3 separate regions of the Homo sapiens genome follow, and regions 2 and 3 are each linked to region 1. The links are contacts of gene promoters, found by promoter capture Hi-C in blood cells and fetal thymus (Javierre and others, 2016). All regions are on one chromosome and are shown on one strand. The core of a region is centred on a gene start or on the middle of the fragment in contact, and the rest is flanking DNA. Distances in the headings are between cores, read along the strand shown.

Region 1 (3,363 bases), core at 471-2,970:
AGATGCTTAATCTAAAAAAGTCATTAATTCAGGAAGAAATATATGTATTCCAATGCAGAATGAGAACAGGACCAAGATATTTTAAAAGGGGAAATATTAAACCCGGTAAGAAGAAAATGATACTATTCTGGAATAAAATGTTACCAGAAAAAGAGAATTAGGAGCTCCTTTGAGGGCCTAAGCCTTTGCCACTTACAGTCTCATCTCAGAGGGGTGTGAGTCATCATCCTCTCCCATTATAATGATGCCTTTGAGCTTGACATTGCCCGTAAATCTGCCAGAATGCAAAAGAGAAGGTTGTCAAACCTGAGTTTGAATACCTGTTTAGTTGTGTGACCCTGGGCAAGACCCTTCCCCTGTATGGGCTTCAGTTTACTCATCTGTCAACTTGTACTAGATAATTTCTAAGATCCTGTCTACCTCTAGCATTCTACAATTCTAAGAAATCTACCTCAATTTCTCAGTTATTGTTCTACAAATACATCTGTTTCCAGTCTGCACCAAGAAAGCTATGATGCTTTCCTCCTCAAACCCACCAAAGTAATTTATCCCATTTCTAGAAGCAAATGTGTGCTCTTGACACCAGTGAATGAATCCATCTGAGGCAACTGGGTACAGCCTATTTAGCCTGAGGTAGGCACCAAGGAGATACTTACGGAATATTAAACAGAAGCTCTTCATCTGCATCACTTTCAACAAACTGGAGGGGATGGGGAGGGGGGAGGAGAAAGCAACAAATATTTGCTGAGAGCCTACAATTTCAGGCATCTCCCACCCTGCTCTACAACTGGGGTGCAATGGGAAGAGTCACTCTCCCTTGGTTTTCCAAGACTTATTAACTTGAAGCTAACCAGTCTTATCCAGTGTCATAACAGCCACAGGCCACCCAACTGGAAGGTTCTTAACAAAAAGCCCATGAATGAATTTCCAGGGTCGAAGAGCCTTCTGAAGTGTGAACTGAAAGGCAGGTGTTTATGTGCATTTTTCTGAGAAGAAGGTCCACTGCTTTCAAACAGATAGCAAAGGGGCCTGCGACCCCACAATGTAAAGAACATTTGCTCTATATGGGAACCACCTTTCATCTCCCTAGGCTCATCTTCACCAGGTAATATGATGAGGCAGCCATTAGCACCAATGGTCCAACGGCCCTCACGACCATCCTCTCTAGCCCACACAGCCCTGGAATAGAGCGTTAGGCTGTGTAGCTTGACAAAACTGTCCCCGTTCCCTCTAGGCCTCAGTTTCCCTATATGCAAAATGGGGAGACAACGCTGCTCGCCTCCCAAAGAGCTGGCAGGAGACAGGCACGGAAAAGCGCTTGGCAACCAGGCTGTCGTTATTCTTAACATCAGAAATGAGTAGACCGACGGCCCGAGGCCCCACACGCACCCTGCCCCGCCCGCCCCAAGCCCCAGGCGGCCCACCTTGGAGCGGTCGGTCCGCTCCTCCCACGGCTTGAAGACGCCGCGGCCGCTGCCCTCGCGGCTCTCGTTAAGGCATTGCAGCCGCTCCAGGTCGATGCGCAGGTACAGGCCGTAGGCCAGGCCGCGCTGCTCGGGCGGCTCCTCCCGTTCGGCGGCGCAGCGGCAGCCACCCCCGCCGTGGCTGTGACCGTGCGACATGGCAACGCCGCCACCTGCGCGTCCTCTCGGCCCCACCGCCGCGCTCGCTCGGCTCGGCTCGCCTCAGACCAGCTCCGCGCCGTTCAGCTCCGGCAACTAAGCGCGCCGCGCCTGCCGCGTCGTAAAAAGCGCCGCTGCGCGGCGCATGCGCGTGGGGAGAAGGCGGGGGGGCGGGGGGGGTGGGGTCGAGCGGAACTGACGTAGGACGCGCGCCTCCCAGGTGCCAGAGTTCGTATATGACTCCAGTCCTGGCGCTGGATGCTGCTGCTGTTCCAGCTTCCTAGGTGTGGAAACTGAAGGACCAAGAGATTAAACAGGTGTGCTGAGTAAACTCACAGGCTGAGATTCGAATTATCCTCCCCCGACGAGGATGGAGCCTTCGCTGTCTTCCTTGATCGCCACGTTTCTTTGCGAGCCGATGAAGGAAAGCGTGAGGAATGATAAGGCCCTGGAGACTGGAGAACGCGAGCTTATCGCTGTCTCACATGCGCACGGCTTAGACGTTGAGAGCTCACAGGCCCACTTGCATAACCACTTTCTTGATAGCGGGGTTACAGCTTGAGAGCATGGGGCTTTGTGCACGGCCAGACCTAAAGACTACTCCTGGGTCTGCTACTGGCCATTGTGACACCTTAAGTCATTTCCCCTATTCTGAGACTCCGTTTCCCCGTCTGTAAGGTGGAAAGAATAGTATCTGTTTCATAGGATCACAGTGAGTATTAAATGAAATAATGCAATTAAAGAACTCAGCAGGCCGGGCGCGGTGGCTCACGCCTGTAATCCCAGCACTTTGGGAGGCCGAGGCGGGCGGATCACGAGGTCAAAAGATCGAGACCATCCTAGCCAACATGATGAAACCCCGTCTCTACTAAAAATACAAAAATTAGCTAGGCGTGGTGGCGCGAGCCTGTAGTCCCAGCTACTCGGGAGGCTGAAGCAGGAGAATCGCTTGAACCCGGGAGGCAGAGGTTGCAGTGAGCCGACATCGCGCCACTGCACTCCAGCCTGGCGACAGAGCAAGACTCTGTCTCAAAAAGAAAAAAAAAGAAAAAACTCAGCAAATGGCTGACACATGATGGGCATTCAGTAGCCGATGGTTATTACGGTCAAATCCAACCACAGCAACTTACTAGCTGCGTGGCCTTGGGCAAGTGACTTGATCTTCTGAGACTCAGTTTACCCCCTGTGAAGTGAAGGGATTGGACTAGATGATCTCTGCGTTTCCTCCCCCATGTGATATTTCAAAGTACTTTTTTTCGAACAGCTGGTTGTGGCCTGTCAATAGGTTTTAAAATCCGTTTATAGAGAATTGTGATCAACATTTAAAAAAAAAATAGAATACAAAAAAAAAAAAACCCAGAATGTATCACACATTTCAAGTCTCAATTGATGAAACTTTTGTTTCAGTTTTGAGTTTGTATTCAGACACAATATGATGTGTTTTTCATATTGTGGGTTGAGATCAAAATAATTAAAAGTCACTGTTTAGAGGTGAAATAATCTTGTTTTCAGGATAGAATGTTTTCCTACTCCCTGGTGGGGAAAAGACAGGATACAGAAAGAGAGTTATGGGATACCCTGGCTACCCTCTTCCCTTCACATCTGGCTCTGGAGTGCTCAGTGGGGCTGGTGAAGTATAGACCAAAATATCCATTTTTTCAAGTTCCATTCAGAAATATTTTCTGGGCCACATGCAGTGCCTCATGCCTGTAATCTCAGCACTTTTGGGAGGCCAAGGTGG
Region 2 (3,363 bases), core at 616-3,115, 200 kb before region 1:
AAAATAAAATAAAAATAAGTAAAAATCAAAAACAAGAAAAAACCTATCACATTACTGTTTCTTTCATATAACAAACCTGCATTTACTTTATTTTCTCATTGCCATCGCCCTAGAAATATAAGCTGTATGTTTTTCATTACTGAATTTCAAGCTTCTAGCACAATGTCTGACACATAACAGGGAATCAAACTTTTTTTTGTTTTGTTTTGTTTTTCACATCACCCTCCCAAAATGCTGGGATTTTGGGGCCACCTTGCCTGGCCCAACATTTTAATAAATTAAGCATGCAAATCTTGGGAAACAAAAATTTAGAATAGCTCTGCTACAGAGTGCTACAAACTATCATCACCTGTATCGAATCACTTAATTGTCTTAGATGCTGATTGACACAAAAATAATGCCTTTATGACTTTTTATTAAATAAAAGTTCATTTAATTTAACAGTACTTGAGTCCCTGCTACCTGCTTGGCACTGTGCCACACGCTGGAGGCATTCCAACTGAAGTCTCTCATCTCCAGAAGTTGACTCTTATCGAGCAGGAAATGGCTCTCAAAAGGGCCTCCAAAATCAAAACCATACTAAAGATTATTTGCTATTTTCATGCTCATTCTCTTACAAACGTGGAGTTTTCCAGAGGGTACATGATGTGTGATAAAGGGTAGTGGAGTGTGTCAAAGTTTTCTCTATTTTTTTTTTTTTTCTTTTTTGAGACGGAGTCTCACCCTGTCGCCCAGGCTGGAATGCAGTGGTGCAATCTCGGCTCACTGCAACCTCTGCCTCCCGAGTTCAAGCGATTCTTCTGCCCCAGCCTCCCAAGTAGCTGGGATTACAGGCGCGCGCCACTACGCCTGGCTAATTTTTGTATTTTTAGTAGAGATGGGGTTTCACTGTGTTGGTCAGGCTGGTCTCAAACTCTTGACCTCGTGATCTGCCCGCCTCGGCCTCCCAAAGTACAGGGAGGGATTACAGGCGTGAGCCACCGAGCCCAGCCGAAGTTTCCTCTATTTTAAGTTCTCATTAACTATTTATTAATAGGTATAACCCACACTTTTTTTAAAAAAAGCTCTTTGGAATCTTCCGTAATACACAAGAATATAAAGGCGTTCTGAGACCAAAAAGTTTGAGAACTGCTGCAATACAGGTCCGATGCATACCCAGGAAGCCGTCAGCAACAAAGAATACACTACAAATGACCACAGTCATGAACCTACAGTGTGAGGTTTGGTCCCACCCAGGTTGGGAGCCAAATGCGTGACTAAGTGGAGATGGCTAGGGTGTGGGTGAGGGGCAAAGGCAGGCTGAAAACACTGGAGAGACAGGCCCAGCTCTGCGCAAGGGCACACACCTCCTTCCTTTACACACTCAATACAAGCTGTAAATCCTTCTTTCGCAGGTCAGGGCATAACCTGGACCAAACGGGAAATTTAAGGCAAAATAAAAGCAGGACATTAACTTGGACCAACCGGGAAATTTAAGGCAGCCTCTCTGAACTAAATAGTTTAAAAATCTGTCCATTTAGTAGTAACCGCAAAGTTTGGCCTAGAGACTAAAACATCTGCTTCCTGATTTGGGGGTGGAGATGAAGTGGAGTGTAAGGTAGAAAACGGCGGGAAATGAAGACCTAAAGAAAGAAAGAACAGGCTTGGGGGAGGGTAAGAGGCACCGCAAGAAGCCAACGAATGACACCGACGCTGAGGCGCGTGCGCCAGCCCTCCGCATGCGCAGGCGGACGCCTGGTGTTCTCGCGGGAAAGAACCGTTGCGCCCGACTTTGCGCGGAGGTAGGAGGGGGAAGTGGAGGCGGGAGTGAAGTCTCGCGAGAAGAGTCGGTTGCCGTAGCAGAGCCCTCTAGCTGTGTGTGTCTGAGGCTCGGCCGCCTGAGCCGCGGACGGTTTGCTGAGCCCGTTAGTGCGCCCGGCCGAGACACGCCGCCGCCATGTCCCGCTACCTGCGTCCCCCCAACACGTCTCTGTTCGTCAGGAACGTGGCCGACGACACCAGGTAGGTACAAGGCAGGTACTCCGGGCCTAGGCGGGGAGGCCGCAGGCGCCTGGAGAGGACCCTGGTGGTGGCGGCACTGGGCCGGGGGAGGGGACGGAGTGAAGATGGCGGGTCCCGCGCCCGCTTTGGCGCCGAACTAGGCCGCGCAGCGGGCCTCAGCCGCCGCGTGGGAGCGAGGGCGGCGCCTCTGCCTTCGCCGGGCCGCGTGGCGGGGTTTTTCGGTCCCCCTCCCCCTCCGCAGTTTGCAGCCCCTTTCTCCCTGCTTCCTGCCGGCGCGAGCAGCCCCCCGCCGCGGCCTTTCCGCGACCCGACGGCCGCCCCCCATTGATTTGAAGTTCACATTCTTCGAGGTTCACGCCCCCTTGGCCCAGAGATTTTTTTTTTTCCCCAGCCAAAAAATAGTGAGATGAAATAACGGGATCGAGGGAGAGGAATGTTGCTACCATTTATCTTTGTTGTTGTTGCCGTTGTTAATATTTGGGGGTTTTAATCAGTTGGAGGTGTTTGGAGAAAGGGAGCGTTGAGATTTGGGGAGTTAGATTTTTCCAGTTAAATGTTGCGAGTAGTTTTTCTTATTTCCTGGAAATTCTGGTCACCCTTTGAAAAGGGAGGTTTGGGAAGCGTCAGTCATTAGGACGTTGACAGCTAAGTTAGATTAATTCAGACGTACCTTAAATAGGCTTTGTTCTCACCATTCCCTTGTTTCGAGTTGCCTTCAGATTATTTTGGAAGAGTTCTTACTACAAGATGAGGCTTTTTATTTCACAAATAATGAATCTACACACAGAAAATAAGTGGTTTGGGTTTTTGGTGTTTCGTGGGGGTTTTTTGCTAGCTTTGTGATTTGCTTTTGTCTTAAATTTAAGAAGGAAAGAAAGCAATAATTCTTTCCATAAATAATTCTTTCCATAATTTCTAATAGTTACGTTAGCATCTAGAGAAATTTTCTCTTTACGTCATCTTGACACTTAACTATTTAAGAAGTTCGATATTTGTGACTTTTTCAGACCATATTTATCTACTGTTAAGTGTGTAAATCTGTCGCTAAAATTGGGGAGTAAAAATAAGTGCTTGGTATTTTTCAGAGTGCTAGAGTCGATTTGATGCTGTAAAAGTAAAAAAAAAAAAAAAAACAAGGCTTATATACAACCTAATGCTGCTGTACCTTTTATGAAAAATGACGGCTGTAGATAAAAATAAGTTGTGGTCATTCCCTTGTACCATACATATGTCTGCTGTTGTCCTGTTAATGTAAACTGCATTTTTATCTTCCAAATTCTTGGATCCTAGCTTTCCTTCATCAAAAAGATATATTGCCTATACATCTTAAGGACTTGGACATAAAAATTTGAGGTCTTTTTA
Region 3 (3,363 bases), core at 585-3,084, 130 kb before region 1:
TACCTCTCAGCTGGGCCAGTAGAGAGGGTCAGGTACCTCTCAGCTCCAGCCAAGCTTTTCCACTTGGGTCCTGTGTTCCCCCTATTACCCACAGTCCCTACCACTCCCTATTGCCCCACACCAGGATCCATCACCCATTATGTTAATCTGCCTGTAGGCATTTGCATTTCAAAGCTCTGGCCTAGTGGTGAAGAGGCATTGGAATGGCATGTCCTTTTAGGTGATCTACTGTAATGTTGGTGCATTATCCCCATTTTACAGATAAAGAAACTTGCCTTTGGGGAAGTTAAGTGAATCAACATTTTAACGAGGCTGTATTAGAACCCAAGTCCCTTGACTCCAGGGTCTAGGCCCATGCCCCACCCTGGCCAGAGTTCGTTGTAAGAGATAACTCAACCGCAGGGGCAAGAGCATTGTGGCACCAGGGACCTGGAGGGGAAGTGGTAACAGGCACGGAAGGCCAGACCTCCTCACACTCACTCATCTGTGAGAAAGTACAAAAGCAAGAGAAAGCTGGCTTGGGGTGGCACTCAACAGGTGCTCTGAGTGGCACCCACGGCCAGGTCCTGGGAGAGGACAGAAAACAACTGGGACTCCTCAGCCCCCGGCAGCTCCCAGTGCCCAGCCACCCACAACACAACCGTGAGTAGCTTTTTTTGTTGTTTATTTTAGGCTTCTTCCTCATTCCCCAACACCTGTATTCTTTTTTGTTTGTTTGTTTGTTTTTGAGACGGAGTTTTGCTCTGTTGACCAGGCTAAAGTACAGTGGCACAATCTCGGCTCAGTGCAGCCTCACAGGTTCAAGCGATTCTCCTGCCTCAGCCTCCCGTGTAGTTGGGATTACAGGTGTGCACTACTGCGTCTGGCTAATTTTTGTATTTTTAGTAGAGACAGGGTTTCACCATGTTGGCCAGGCTGGTCTCGAACTCCCGACTTCAGGTGATCTGCCCACCTTGGCCTCCCAAAGTGCTGGGATTACAGGCATGAGCCACTGCACCTGGCCAAAACCTGTATTCTTACCTTATCCCTTCCCTCCAGGGACACAAGAAGCCAGGTGGGCCTGTCTGGGGCAGGGGATAGATGTCATTTCAGGACACCTGGGGTTGTGGAGGACCAGTCGCAGGAAAGTTCAGGGCTGGCATCCCCCTCCTAGGACCAAGAATCAGGACTTTGGCTTTCATTTCATTACAGAGACAAGAATCACACACACAGAGATGGCCTTACTGTGTGCCAGGCGCTGCCCTAAGAGCCTTTAGTGGTTGGATTTATTTAATCCTCACAACAGCCGTATGCAGTAGGAGCTATCACTGTTGTCCACTTGATAGGTGGGGGCTAGGTGACCCACCTGAAATCATGCGGGCATTGAATGAGAGCATTGGCTTGAGCCTAGGCACTCCGGCTTCGCGGCCCACCCTTCAGCCACCAGGCTATCCTGCCTTACGAGGTGTGGACTGCAACAGTAGATGGGGGCCAGGAAATGACAGGGGCTGGCAGAGGCCTTTGAGATGACCAGGTGAGTCCTGCGCTCTCATTTTATAGATGGGGAGACCACAAGGTAGTGTTAGGGGCACACTGGACTCAGGAGGCCAGGGGTCTGCTTTGGTGTAAGTTCCACTCAGCGGAGGGAAGAGCAGTATTTTCCAGTGTGCCCTGGGGTCAGCGTCCAGGTCTGAATCCCAGCTCTGCCACTGGTAGCTCGATGGCCTAATGCAAATCACTCCATTTCTTTCCTGCTCAGCTTCCTCTTCTGAGAAACATGGGCCTGAGAAGGTCACTCACAGGCTTGTTGCGAGTCAACTGTCTGATGCGGGCACAGGGCGGGCAGCAGCACAGGGCTCGGGAATGGCTGTGGTGGAGAGTTTGATCTTCACCCCATCTGCTCTTGCTGTGGATCTGAGATGAGGATAAAATGAGGCCTGGCTGCTTTTCCCTGGAATGAGTGGCAAGTAGACACGTTGGCAGCATGAAAACCAGGATGGAGGCTGGGGAGAAGTTCAGGGAGAGCTCAGGAGGTGGAGTCCCAATAATCCTGGCCCCAGCTCTGTAACCACCTTGTGGCTTACCAGAGTGACCCCCTAACCTGCGCTGGGCAGGTGAAGCATATCCTTTACCCTTTGGCCGGCTAAGGCCAGGATAAGGCAGTGAAGACGGGAAAATGGCAGCCTGGCTCAGCCAAGCAGAGCCCTCCAGCGCCAGCCCCCTCTCTTCCCACCTCATTTTACAGTACCAGTCACTCTTACTGCACACCCTCGGGTGTGCATAAATTGATCTTTTCTTTATTCAGTTGAAGTCACATTCAATAGGACCCTGAGCCTCATCCTACTGGGCTAGGAGGAAATTTAATCTCCAAGTGCACTGAGCTTCCCTCACTCCCATCCCCACCCATGCACATTGACCCAGAGGACACACAGAACATAAGCGTGAGGGAGGCTCCTGGGTCCTCCTACGATGGATGCCCATTGCCCAAATGGACTTGATTGTCTGAAGTCCAGCCTTGCCCACTTCCCTGGCATGCCTGGAGTCCAGATTCTTTGTAAGACCTGAAACCACTGTGTCTCATTTTGACATCCAGGATATATCACCCAGTGACTTCCCCCAGAGGTCCTGCCATCTTCCCAGAAAGCAAATTCTAGGTGCCCAAGACCTCGGTCCCCTCCCAGCCAAGGACAATCTCTCCTCTCCCCTTGGCTGTGGATGGCAGATGGACACTCTTCTCTCCCCACCCCCCACCCACGTGACCTAACCTTCTCACTGCGCTCAGGTTCTCAGGAAAGGACAGGAAGAAGGGTTGTCTTCAAATAGCTTCTGCTTCCTACTCTCACCCCTGAAAAAAGTCCCCGAGCCACGAGACACAAAGGGCACTCTGAAAAGAGACAGGCAGCCCTATCTTACAGATGAGAAAAACCAAGACTCAGCAGCAGTGTTGACTTGCTCAGTGTCACACAGCCAAGGAATAGCGGAGCCAGTGTGAGCAGAGAGTCCTGCGCTGTGGGTTCAGAGCTTGTGCTATCAATCACATGGAATCACATGGAAACCCAAGTCTCCCTCATCAATTACTCAGGCAACCTGGGGCAAGTTACATCACCTTTCTGAACCTCAGTTTCTTCAACTCTAAAAATGACGCTATCATAGCATTCCCAACCTGCCTCAAAGGGGCTCTTGTTTTTTGTTTTTTGTTTTTTTGTTTTGTTTTCTTTTCTTTTCTTTCTTTTTTTTTTTTTTTTTTTTTTTTTGAGACAGCGTTTTGCTCTTGTTGCCCAGGCTGGAGTATAATGGCGTAATCTCAGCTCATTGCAACCTCTGCCTCCTGGGTTCAAGCGATTCTCCTGCCTCAGCCTCCCAAGTAGCTGGGATGACAGGCAT

Evidence for each region. The method cuts DNA at HindIII sites, captures the fragments that hold promoters and counts their contacts. A CHiCAGO score of 5 or more calls a contact.
Region 2: a contact is called between the fragment with the promoter of SRSF10 here and the fragment with the promoter of PITHD1 in region 1, in 2 of 17 cell types (neutrophils and monocytes). The highest score is 7.9, in neutrophils.
Region 3: a fragment that was not itself captured here is called in contact with the fragment with the promoter of PITHD1 in region 1 in 5 of 17 cell types (neutrophils, total B cells, monocytes and 2 more); the score reaches 8.6 in neutrophils.

Annotation. Positions count from the first base shown.
Region 1 is chr1:23,776,775-23,780,137 of GRCh38, reverse strand. It overlaps PITHD1 (PITH domain containing 1), which reads right to left and starts at 1,720. Exons shown (of 6, transcript NM_020362.5): 1 at 1,425-1,720; 2 at 657-700; 3 at 197-274. The coding sequence starts at 1,622. It overlaps ELOA-AS1 (ELOA antisense RNA 1), which reads left to right and starts at 1,841. Exons shown (of 4, transcript NR_038280.1): 1 at 1,841-1,939. RefSeq lists enhancers at 1-790, 2,044-2,996 and silencers at 1,341-1,390, 1,481-1,790. The HindIII fragment of the contact is 11,008 bases long and covers 1-3,363 here.
Region 2 is chr1:23,978,829-23,982,191 of GRCh38, reverse strand. SRSF10 (serine and arginine rich splicing factor 10) reads left to right here and starts at 1,865. Exons shown (of 6, transcript NM_054016.4): 1 at 1,865-2,001. The coding sequence starts at 1,937. RefSeq lists enhancers at 1,541-1,590, 657-1,647, 1,601-1,930, 2,361-2,410, 1,648-2,638. The HindIII fragment of the contact is 15,744 bases long and covers 154-3,363 here.
Region 3 is chr1:23,910,525-23,913,887 of GRCh38, reverse strand. CNR2 (cannabinoid receptor 2) reads left to right here and starts at 526. Exons shown (of 2, transcript NM_001841.3): 1 at 526-642. RefSeq lists enhancers at 200-714, 1,488-1,657. The HindIII fragment of the contact is 3,555 bases long and covers 57-3,363 here.